Linked DNA regions of Homo sapiens: all the other regions are linked to region 3. Evidence: promoter capture Hi-C in human tissues and cell types (Jung and others, 2019). All regions are on one chromosome and are shown on one strand. The core of a region is centred on a gene start or on the middle of the fragment in contact, and the rest is flanking DNA. Distances in the headings are between cores, read along the strand shown. Region 1 has its middle 18 kb from the start of LINC01502. Region 2 overlaps QSOX2 (quiescin sulfhydryl oxidase 2). Region 3 holds the start of CAMSAP1 (calmodulin regulated spectrin associated protein 1). Region 4 holds the start of MRPS2 (mitochondrial ribosomal protein S2).

Evidence for each region. Contacts are between HindIII fragments. The study calls those that stand out against the background at their distance.
Region 1: a contact is called between a fragment that was not itself captured here and the fragment with the promoter of CAMSAP1 in region 3, in 1 of the 25 tissues and cell types used here (dorsolateral prefrontal cortex).
Region 2: a contact is called between a fragment that was not itself captured here and the fragment with the promoter of CAMSAP1 in region 3, in 2 of the 25 tissues and cell types used here (liver and lymphoblastoid cells).
Region 4: a contact is called between the fragment with the promoter of MRPS2 here and the fragment with the promoter of CAMSAP1 in region 3, in 1 of the 25 tissues and cell types used here (dorsolateral prefrontal cortex).

What each region holds. Positions count from the first base shown.
Region 1 is chr9:135,591,913-135,594,612 of GRCh38, forward strand. No RefSeq gene overlaps it. Among named protein-coding and RNA genes, the nearest start is that of LINC01502, 18 kb to the left of the region's middle. The HindIII fragment of the contact is 7,979 bases long and covers 1-2,700 here.
Region 2 is chr9:136,224,365-136,227,117 of GRCh38, forward strand. It overlaps QSOX2 (quiescin sulfhydryl oxidase 2), which reads right to left. Exons shown (of 12, transcript NM_181701.4): 2 at 2,410-2,510; 3 at 497-545. Among named protein-coding and RNA genes, the nearest start is that of QSOX2, 20 kb to the right of the region's middle. RefSeq lists enhancers at 1,021-1,070, 1,251-1,330, 1,461-1,680. The HindIII fragment of the contact is 5,657 bases long and covers 1-2,753 here.
Region 3 is chr9:135,906,213-135,908,965 of GRCh38, forward strand. CAMSAP1 (calmodulin regulated spectrin associated protein 1) reads right to left here and starts at 1,334. Exons shown (of 17, transcript NM_015447.4): 1 at 788-1,334. The coding sequence starts at 947. It overlaps CAMSAP1-DT (CAMSAP1 divergent transcript), which reads left to right and starts at 1,621. Exons shown (of 2, transcript XR_007061860.1): 1 at 1,621-2,707. RefSeq lists silencers at 473-522, 923-992, 1,073-1,182, 1,223-1,902. The HindIII fragment of the contact is 39,877 bases long and covers 1-2,753 here.
Region 4 is chr9:135,499,264-135,501,963 of GRCh38, forward strand. It overlaps MRPS2 (mitochondrial ribosomal protein S2), which reads left to right and starts at 1,419. Exons shown (of 4, transcript NM_016034.5): 1 at 1,419-1,490; 2 at 1,735-1,860; 3 at 2,581-2,700. The coding sequence starts at 1,448. It overlaps PIERCE1 (piercer of microtubule wall 1), which reads right to left and starts at 606. Exons shown (of 3, transcript NM_001048265.2): 1 at 446-606. The coding sequence starts at 588. RefSeq lists silencers at 709-878, 1,149-1,318, 1,529-1,688 and an enhancer at 1,644-2,268. The HindIII fragment of the contact is 18,925 bases long and covers 1-2,700 here.

The DNA of each region.
Region 1 (2,700 bases), core at 152-2,651, 310 kb before region 3:
TCAGCTTTCTCAGGACCCTGCCCGTGCACATGTGGATCTTCCTGGACGTTACCCAGGCGGAAGGTGAGCTCCACCCAAGACAGGCCCAGCCTCGGCTGGAGGAGAAGCCACCACTGTCCCAGCCCAAGCCCCCCGCTGGCCCTGTAGGACTCAGGGCAGCACCCGTCACTCCTCGTTGGCCCCTCCCATGTTCTCCCCAGGGCTCCCCTGGGGATGCAAAGGCACCCTGAGGTGGGGTCCCGTCCCCCTCCCATCATCCCCCAACCTCTGGCCCTGGGACTGCTGTGTCCCCAGCTAAGTCTCCCCTCCCACTGACGCCCCCACTGCCCCCTCTCCTCCCACAGAACAGTGCCGCGTCTAGATGAGCTCCTGCTCAGTCCTGCCTCCTGGGTAATGTACCAGCCCCGCCCATAGCCTGAGGTCGCCTTTCTGGGCTCCTGGAAGAGACCCCACTGTGTCCATTCCCCAGGGCTGACCCTGAGCGATGGGCTGGAATCCTGGGGCATCTGGAAAAGCCCAGCTGGCCATGTGCCCGCGTCTCTGGGGTTGGCTGCTCCAGATGCCATTTCCTGTGTCCTGGGCACAGGATGAGGCCTTCTCCTCCAGGGTGGGGGTGAGTGAGGGTGGGGGGCTCAGGGGTGGGCCTGGGATCATAAGCCCCTCCGGCCTGAAGCTGGGGGTGAGGTGGGGGCTCCTCTCACATAAGCAGGGGTCCCTCACTCTAGGACCTGCAGGGGCAGGGTCCTAGAGTCACAGGGGAGCCCTTTTGTGCACATCAGGTCCTGGAGCCTCGGCCCCTGTGCGGACGGAGAGGATGTCGCCTTCCTGGGAGGGACAAGGAGGCTGAAGACCAAGGCACGTTTCCTGGGACGCTGGGACCTCCTGGGTCTCAGCCTGGGGTCTCCTGTCCTAAGCTGTCCCTCTTTGAACAATAAATAACCCCGTCCCCTGAGTCTGTGCTGGCAGGCGCGTGGGGATGCAGCTGAGGGCAGGCTGTGGGGCTGGGGAACTCGGGGACTGGCAGACTCAGGGGCTGGGGGGATCGGGGACTGGGGGACTCAGGGGCTGGGGTCTCAGAGGCTGGGGGGCACGGGGGCTGGGGACTCGGGGGCTGGGGACTCGGGGGCTGGGGGACTCGGGGGCTGGGGGCTTGGGGCCTGGATGACTCAGGGGCTGGGGGACTGGGCTGGGGGGCTCAGAGGCTGGGGGGCTCAGGGGCTGGGGGGCTTGGGGGCTGGGGGACTCGGGGGCTGGGGGGTTGAGGGAACTGAGTTCATGGTTTCTGTATTGTAGGCCCTATCATATTTGGGGATCAAGACACTATAGGAGGCTTTAAAATTTTCAGGAACTAGATAAGAGTGCTGCTGAGATGGCCAGAGCTTGCCATTCATGTTGGAGGTCCAGGCCACACAAAGGACAAAATATGAAAAATCACAGACCCATTCATTGAATAAATATTGATATAAAAACTTAAATGAGTGTTTTACAAATCAAATTCTGCACTATTTAAAAAACACAAACCCCATGACCTCCAGGGCATCTCTCTGGAGCATAAGGGAAGTTGCTACCAGGAAGAGCTTTGCTATCAGCCTTCATCTGCTCATAAATGCCATTGATCTTTTCTGGGCTAATGTGAAATAAAGAGATTTCCCCTGGATTGAGGAACTGAACAAAAGAGGTGAGATATGGGAGAGGAATTTGTTTTTCATTATAAAATATTTTGAACATCACAAAAGGAAAAAGAATATGCAACAACAGAAATAGATTTGTCAATAATTGTAACATGCATAACTTTAAATTTTCAAAATATAGATGGCATGGATACATTTCCAATAAAATATCAATGACCAATATTGGCTCAAAAAGTAGAGGAAACTTAGAAAGAACAATCATCATAGAAAAAACCAGAATAGTTCCAGATCTTCTGTCTGTGGATGAGAATAAAAAACCTTTATCTGATAGTTCCTGGCTCATACGATCCATTCCAGGGCATAGAAAAAGACGGTGAGTTGCTCAGCTGCCCTGATAACAAAACTGGAGAAGGAAGATACAGGAAAAGGAAAGCTGTCAACTTTCAGAATCAAGACACAAATATCTGAATACCTTATTAGCAGACTGAATCTAACAAACGTATTTAATACATCATGATTTAGCCCAAAAAACAAAGAACATTTCAATATTAGAAAATGTATCAATAAAAGCCAGGTGTGGTGGCTCACACCTGTAATCCCAGCACTTTGGGAGGCCAAGATAGGCAGATCGCCTGAGGTCAGGAGTTCAAGACCAGCCTGACCAACACGGTAAAACCCCGTCTCTACTAAAAATACAAAAATTAGCTGGGTGTGGTGGCAGGTACCTGTAATCCCAGCTACTCCGGAGGCTGAGGCAGGGGAATCACTTGAACCTGGGAGGTGGACATTGCAGTGAGCCGTGATCATGCCACCTCACTCCAGCCTAGGTGACAGAATGAGACTCCATCTCAAATGTATCAATAAAATTAACTAACTTAAGACTAAGGGAGAAGTGCCATATAAGAATCTTTAATTAATTTTTAAAAATATGTTTCAAAAAATATAATATTCCATTCATGAAGGAGACCTTGCACATCAAGAGTGTCATTCAACATTAAATAGCATATGCTGTGCTTATAAGTAACCCTGAAACCCTGAAATGAATGAATCAATCACTGAAAGCACCAAA
Region 2 (2,753 bases), core at 180-2,679, 320 kb after region 3:
AGGCAGATGGCAAGACACGGCACTGCGAGGAGCAGGCCAGGCGGCTCCACTGGGTCACTCACAGGCAGAGCCCCCCCAGGGCGCGGCGAGGAGCAGGCCAGGCAGCTCCACCGGGTCCCTCACAGGCAGAGCCCCCCAGGGTGTGGCCTGCGGGGTCTGATCACACTCTGGGCGATGCTCGGCTGGGTGGGATCATTTGTAAAAATTCATCGGGTGGGTACATGTGATCTGTGCACATCTCCAAATATTTTTACAATAAAAAATTTACTCTGAAAAAGTTTTTACTACAATATTTGCCAAGCAAGGCAAAGCACAAAATTAAAATTTCTCTTTGAAACTATTAATATCTGAACTCTTAAGGGAAAGCAGGCAGGAAGGTCAGCAGAGGGAAAGGTGCTGACCCAGGCTGGGAGCTCCCCAGGCTCTGGGACCGTGTGTCTTTAGCAGGTTTATGAGGGGAATCTCAGGGACTAAAATACAATGCTTATGTCCTTACCTTTAAAATTTTCTCCAGTTGTAAACTCCTTTGTAAATGCTTTAAAATACTAAGAGGAAAAACACAGAACAAGTAAGAGGCAGCCTTCCATGGGCATCTGCATGTGTTTAAGCAACAAAACGCCCGTCACCTTAGAGGGAGCTTTACTCAATTTCCTTCGGAAAGTTTTCATAAATTAATGACAAACCACACGCTTCTCCTTGTCTTTGTGCATATTAATGTTTCCTGTCAGATTTACGAGGGGGCTAAGGTTAGCTCCAATCAGCATTCCCATCATTTACATTTTCTGACCCAACAGGGCTAGAAGCAAGACAGTTCAACTGGGCTGGAATCATAAAAGACACCGCTCTCTGGGACTTGGTAGTGAGCCTATGTCTTAATGGTTAGCTGTAGCGTTAGCTGTGACAACACGGAGGATGTGCAGGAGGAGGAGACACCACGCAGTATCTCTGAGTGGATGATTAGGTTCTTATGTTAACATTAAAAACTTTCTTCATCAAAGGGTACGTTAGAGACAGCGACGAGACAAGGTTACATGATGGCGGAGATGAGGTCGGTAAGAAAAGCACTGGCCAGCTAAGAGGGAAACGTGCAGATGACAGGAAGACACTTCACCCATGACACCCACGGCCCACAAAGCCAGATGTGCTGGCACTGCAGCCGCCAGGGAAATGCAAACGAAGCCGCCAGTGCTTCCTGCTGCACTGGTCCCTGGGCGAGCACAAAACTGCCTGACACTGCTGGCCCTGCAGGTCTGTTGTGCACAGACCCGGTTCGCGGCCCAGTGGCTTCTCTCCCAGCCTCAGCTCTCCCCTTGCCCGGGAAGGCGCACAGCAGCGCCGTTCAAAGCCACCAAAGCCTGGAAGAGCCCACACACCTGGCAACGGGGGGCTCTGGTTCTCAGAGTGACGTCACTGGACAATCCCATCCAATGAGCATCGTAGTGGATCTGGGCAATGTCCCATTAAGTAACAGAAAGAGGGCCCGAAAGTTTACATACAGCACAGTGTGAACTGTGTCTGAAGCAAAATCAAAATACAACAGGAAGCCATGCTGACGTAATCACACGCAGAGGCAGGCAAGCAAGTGTGCGACACAGGCCCCGAGAGGCCCTGGGGCAGGGCTGACACCGGTGCCGCCCAGCGTGGCACCTGTTAGGGCAGGACCACAGGTGCTGCCAGCACAGTGAAAACAACAGCCCCCAAAATACAAGCGAAGCCACCATGACATGACACCACACCACACAGCAAGGCACCAGGGCTGACAAGGACGGAGTTTTACTCAAATTGACAAAGCTTCCCAGGAAGTGGGCCCAAGGCGCCCACGTTTCTGGAGATGTCCATGTCAAGGCACGCAGGAGGCAGTGGCACCCGCAGGTACACACATGCTATGCACGGGCCTGCAACAGGGTCACAGGTACCTCCGCCCCCTAGTGGGAGCAATGGGCACAGCCTTGTCTGCAGGGCTGACTTTGGCTGGGGAAGGCAGAGGCCCTGTGCCTGTGTGTGCGTGTGTGTGTGCATGAGTGTGCATGTGTGAGAGCCCCATGGTACACGGACCACACGCGTGGCTTCAGGCTGGGGTGCCAGCCCTCGCAGTCCTGGTCTCCTTGCGCCCCCTGGCCGTGCAGGCTGCAGGGGGTCTTTTCACGCATCCCCTCCATGTGACCGGGTCTGTGTGAGCGTGGACAGTCCCACAGACACTTCCACAGCACAACAGGGTGGAACAAGAGCTGCCCCCACCAAACATCAGCTCCTACAATTCCTACGAAGTTCCAAGGAGAGAGCCAGAGAAGCCGAAAACACAGGCACTATGATGTGGCGAATTTCAACAGACAAGCAGCCGCGTGATGCTCACCTGGAAGGTGGGGTAGAAGGTGAATTTCAACGGACAAGCAGCCGCGTGATACTCACCCGGAAGGTGGGGTAGAAGTGGATGTCGTAGTCATGGCACACGGCCTGGTTCTTCTCTTCCATGCAGTCCAGAGCTGCGACGCGAATGGCACTGGCCCAGTCTGAAAAGCAGGAGCATGACCTTCAGTGTGGTGAGCACTGGACTCCCGGGAAGCCCAGGACCCAGCAGTCCCCACTCCAGGCTGCGGCCACCTGCGAGACCAGCCCACCTGCCCCCTCTAGGTCATCAGTTAGGCCCTCATCACACAGAGCGTCTATGTGGAGCTAGGAGAGAGAACTCCACCAACAGCACGATGCCTCTCCTACCACAGATAGTCACAGAACAAGCGGATTTGTGCTGAACC
Region 3 (2,753 bases), core at 84-2,583:
TACTCTAAAAAGGGTAATTTTTCACCAGAATAAAGGCAAATATTTTAAGAATGCTTCAAATGAAAAGAGGATTGCAGAAATATTAACCTTTAATTGTACCTGAAACAAAGCACCTGAAATTAATAAAGAAGTCAGCCACTGACGAGAATCACTAGGTCTGTCCTGTTCCCAGGGCACGAAACAGAAGCGTCTTAATCCACTAAGCACATTAGGGCCTAACAAACTGGACTGAGTAACAAGGTTACCTAGTTCTTCCAAACAGGAATTAACCAAAGGGGATCATTATGATTAAGCACAATGCGCGGAATACGCAATTTCTAGTTGGGGAATTCAACAGCTGACAGCTTGTAAGCATCAAAATTCATAACAAGTGCAAGGCTCGGAATCACAGGTCCAGCACTGGACGATGCCCGGCGCGCCGGGAAGCGGCGCCTCAGACGGCGGCCCCGCGTCCCCATGGTCCCTCCCTGCGCCCAGAACCGGGCAGCTCCTTCCCGCCGCCGCCGCCGCCAACGGGAGGCTGGGGGCACTCCCGAAATAGGAGCGGAAGCCCCGACCCACGCCGCCCTCCGCCGCAGGGACGCCCACTCGCCAGGTGACCGCGTCCCCACGCTCCGCGTTGCCCGGGCGCCGCCAGGACCTCGGAGGCGGCCGGCCCAGCCCCGACCCTGTGCGGACGCGGCACAAAGGCGCGGCGCGCGGACCCCGACCCGGCCGGACCCCGGCCGCGTCCCCCGGCCCCGGCCCGCGCCCCTGGCCCCCGCCCCGCGCCCCTCACCCGGCCCACCTCGGCCGTAGGCCTTGGCGCAGATCCACTGCAGGTTGGCGGCGATCTTGGCGCGCGCCGCGTCGTAGCGGTCCAGGGGCACGAGGTCGGCGGCGCCGTCCGGCGGGGCCTCCATCTTCCTCCAGCCCTCGGCGGCGGCGCGGCCGCTCGCGTCCACCATCTGCAGACAAAGGGCTGAGGCGGCGGCCCGGCCGCAACAAAGGCGCCGCCGCCCCTCGCCGCGCCGGGCCCGGTGCGCCCCGAGCCACCACTCGGCCCCGCAGCCGGCCAGCCGGGAGGGGCGCCCGAGCGCGGCCCCCGCCTCACCTCACAGCCGCCGCCGTCGCCGCCCCCGCGGCTGCTGCATGCTGCGGGCGCTGAGCCCGAGCGGAGGAGGTGCCGAGCCCGCGGCCCAAAGAGGCGGCGGCAGGAGGGCGCGGGCCGGGGGCGGGGGCGGGCGCGGGGGCGGGAGCGGGCCGGGGGCGGTGGCAGCGCGTGCGCGGTCCCGGGTGAGCGGCGGCGGCGGCGACAGCGGCTGAGGCGGTGGCCAAGGAGCGGGAGCGCGCTCACCGCCGGGGCCTCGCACAGGCGCAGTAGGCACCGCCCGCCACCCCGCCCTCGACCCCGCCCCCAGCTCCGCTCCCTTCTCGCGCCTGCCCCGCCCCTTTCCGCAGGCGCAGTAGGCACCGCCCGCCAGCCCGCGCCCGCCCCGCCCCTTTCCGCAGGCGCAGTAGGTGGCACCCGCAGGCCTGTGCCTGCCCCGCCCCTTTCCGCAGGCGCAGTGAGCGTCGACCCGCCCCTCCCCGCCCGCTTCCGCAGGCGCAGTAGGACCCGCCCTGGTCCGCGCCTGCCCCGTTGCTTTCCTCAGGCTCTAAGGCCCGCGGTGTGGAGCGCGGCGTAGGCAGCGGGGAGTGGGCGGCGCGGGGTGGGTGGAGTGGGTCGGCGGCGGGGATCCTGCCGAGCCCGCAGCTGCCCTCTTTTAGCGCCGTGTCTCCTCCCCGGCCCTGGCTCGTCCCACCTCAGCCACAGCCCGGCCCCCTGGCCGGCCGAGGTCTCGCCGCCGGCGCCCTGGGGACCTCGTGGGTGTGGCCGGCGGCGACCTCGGCAGGCGACAGCCCAGCAGACGGGCACCAGGTGGACGTGCCAGTCTCCAGACCCCCGTCCCGGTGCAGGGAAGGTGGGCGTTTGGACCCCTGAGGCAGAAACAGGTGCGGCCCCGCCGGCGCATCCCCCGGAAGGGACGCTGACTTCGTTCCCCTGGAGCCTGCGTCGGGGCCCGCGCTGGGCTGAGAATTACGGGAACGCCGTGAGAGTTTGCATTCCGAGGATTTGGTCTGAGAACCTCACCAGCGAAATAGAGAACTGCCCCCGGGAGAGCCGGCCCACGTGCCGCCCACCGGCGCCTTGACGGCAGGGAGAGGTCGAGCTTCCAGGGAGCGGGCGCCCGGCGCGGGGCTCCCAGCCTGTCTGTACCTGGTCGAGACACCCCGTGCCAGAGGCGGAACATGTATGAAATGCCAGGTGCCCAGAGGACCCAGGCAGTCCGTCATTCACATACCAACCCACGTGCAGGCTTCAATTCAACCTTGAAGCCATTTGGGCCTGGGCTTTTTTGATGACTTATTTGATTCATAGTTTTTTGGTTACTAATTGAGTCTCTTCACTTGTTATAGGTCTGTTGAGATTGTCTATTTTTTCTTGAGTCAGCCGTCTGAAAAGAACACGAGGTGGACAGGGCAGAGCGGTCAAGGAAAGCCATAGGAGGAGGGCACTTATTTGAGCAAAGACCGGCGGGACGTGGGCGTCGAGGGTAAGGATATCTGCAGAAGTACTGTCTTGAGCAAGGAGCACGGCAGACAGAGCCTCTGAGACACGAGAGCCTGGAGTGTAAGAAACACAGTAGAGGCCACTAAGTCGAGAACGCAGGAGCTGGAAGGACTGGTAGGAAATGGGAGGTGGGGACATGGAGGGATGCAGACAGGTCCTG
Region 4 (2,700 bases), core at 169-2,668, 410 kb before region 3:
TGTGATGAGCACGGCAAGATGTTTGCACCTGCCTACAGGAATTGAGTTTCTTACTACTTCTTAGCCTGCAATGCCCTGTGGCAGCTCAGAGCTGGCTGAGTCTACAGCAAGACAGTGGAGGTGCTGCTGTGCTCACGCCCCGCAGCGGAGTTTCAGGGTAGAGAGGAGAGGAGACTCACCCGACACAAATCAGTGGAGCTGAGACCACAACTGGGCTTTCTCCCCCCACGGCCCTGCCCCCCACTGCCCTTATCCCCACTTCCTTGTATGAGGCTCTAGGGAGCACGGTCGCCGCTCACTGGCGGGCGATGACAGCGCGGGCCCCGGATGACCACTCGATCTTCTTGATTTCTGTAGCTAGGACCTTGGGGGTCTTGCGGGGTCTCTCACACACGGGGCTATCGAGCAGTGGACGCCAGGACCAGGCGGGCCCCAGCTTCCTCACCTGTAGCCCCGGAACCACCCCGGGTTGTTGAACCTGCCCGGCAGGTCCGCGCTCACGCGGTAGTAGTCGCTGGTCCTCTCCGGCGGGGCCGTGGCCTTGGGCGCCACAGGCTCCGCGCACGCTCTGGGGCATTCCTCAGCCATTGTGCCTGGAGGAGAAGCGGGACTCGGCGGCGTCCTGTTGCCAAGCGACGGCCAGGTCACGTGACTGGGGAGCGAGCGGAGGGGCCTTAAAGGCGCCGCGCGTGGGCCGGGTTCCTCTGCGGGTGGGTCCGGAACCTGCCGGGCGACTCCCCAAGGGCCGGGAAGGTCGGGACGGCGAGAGATTCCCTGCTGGGACCGTCGTGTGAGGCAGCCCCAGGCCCCCAGCCACCCGCGGGGGGACCGGGCCACCCCAGCATCAGGGCGTGGACTCCCGGGCGAAAGAAACCCCAGGGCCTGGGACCCCGCCAGCCGGGTGACGGGGTTTAAGCACTGCAGGTCCACTCGGCAGGCAACGATTGGACTTTTGCTGTCCAATGTACTCCAGGGATGCTATGCCCCCCAGCACCCCGAGTCTAAATTGAGACCCGAGATCTGGCTAACTTTATGAAATTCTCCTAAGCCAAATATCGTTTAAATATTACAAACAGTTTTGGAGAGCGAGAGGTTGCGCAGGACGTGGTTCACAGCTCACTTGGCGGGAGGCGAGGGTCCCCATCGCCCAGCGGGCTTCCCCAAGGGTCAGGGGCCTCCCGGGCTGGCCGGTCCCATTAGCAGGGCGGGGCGAGCTGCAGGGCGAGGACCGTGGCTCCACTCCCCGCCCGAGACTCTCAAGCCCAGGACCCCGGGCCCTGACCCCTCGCGTGCCCCGCCCCCGCAGGGAGGTCCCAGCCGCCTGGGGACAGCGCTGTGGCTCCTCCGGGCCTGTAGGCGGCACTGCGGCCCCGCGCGGATGGCGACGGAAGGGGAGGCCGCTCGGCCTGGCCTGGAGGGAGACCTCGCTCTGCCCCGCGTCCCAGCCATGGCGACATCCTCGGCCGCGCTGCCCCGAATACTCGGCGCGGGTGAGCGCGCGCTTGCGGGACCCTGGGGAGGAGCATGCGAGGAGGATGCGGAGGGGCGCGGGGACCCGATGGAGCGGCGGGGACGTGGAGGGGACCCGGGGCGAGCGCGGAGGGGACTCGGGGAGGGCGCGGGGACGCGGAGGGGACCCGTTAGGGACGCGGAGGGGCCCGTTGGGGATGCGGTGGGGAGCGGGCGTGGTGCATTCGGGACTCGGCGCCAGGACCTCTATCTACTTCCCCCCAGGTGCCCGGGCCCCGTCGCGCTGGTTGGGCTTTCTCGGGAAGGCGACCCCCCGGCCTGCTCGGCCGAGCCGCAGGACGCTTGGAAGCGCGACGGCCCTTATGATCCGCGAGTCGGAGGACAGCACCGGTAACACTGGGCGCCCAGCCGAGTTGGGTGGGAACGAGGAGAGGCCGGCAGCCGCGGGGGATGCGAACCCTAGAGGGGCCTGGGCGCTGCACGCGGTCGAAACTGCGCGCTCCGCTGGGCTCCTCCCACTCCCGTGCTCGCCGCCGCTCGGTCCTGCCTGACGTAGCACAGCGGGCTGAGGCCACCGCCTCACCATGGATAGGGTGAGAGGGAGCGGGCGGGCCAGTGGTTAGCACAGGCTTCGCTCCCTAGGGGGGTGTCACTGGACCACCGAGGCCCGGAGCCCCGAGCTCGCCCAGGCGGGCCCAAGTGACCTGGGGGCACTGGGCTTGGAGTCTGCCCACCTTGCTGGACTCCTGATGGGGACTTTCTGGCTGGCCACCTGAGACCACAAGGCGGGGAGGTGCCAGAAAGACCTGAGCAACCCGCTGGGCCCCTCTCTTTTTCTCCTCTGTCTTCCAAGTAAGACCAAGGGACGGGGTTGACCAGGTTCGACCAGGCTTACCCAGGAGCAAGGTCGGGATCAGAACCTGGCTCCAGCCCTCTGTTTCCTGAAAAGGTCCCTGTGCTTCCAGGTCTTTCCTGGGGCTGCTGGGCTCCCGGCTCCCCACCTCGGTGTCACAGAAGGCACTTGGGAGCAGGGGTGGGCGGGAACTGCGCTCTGCCTGTCTCTGCTGCCACCGGTGGGAGACGCAGCGTCGCTCCTCCTCCCTGCCGTAGATTTCAACGACAAGATTTTGAATGAGCCCCTCAAGCACTCTGACTTCTTCAATGTCAAGGAACTGTTTTCCGTGAGAAGCCTCTTCGATGCCCGAGTCCATCTGGGACACAAAGCTGGCT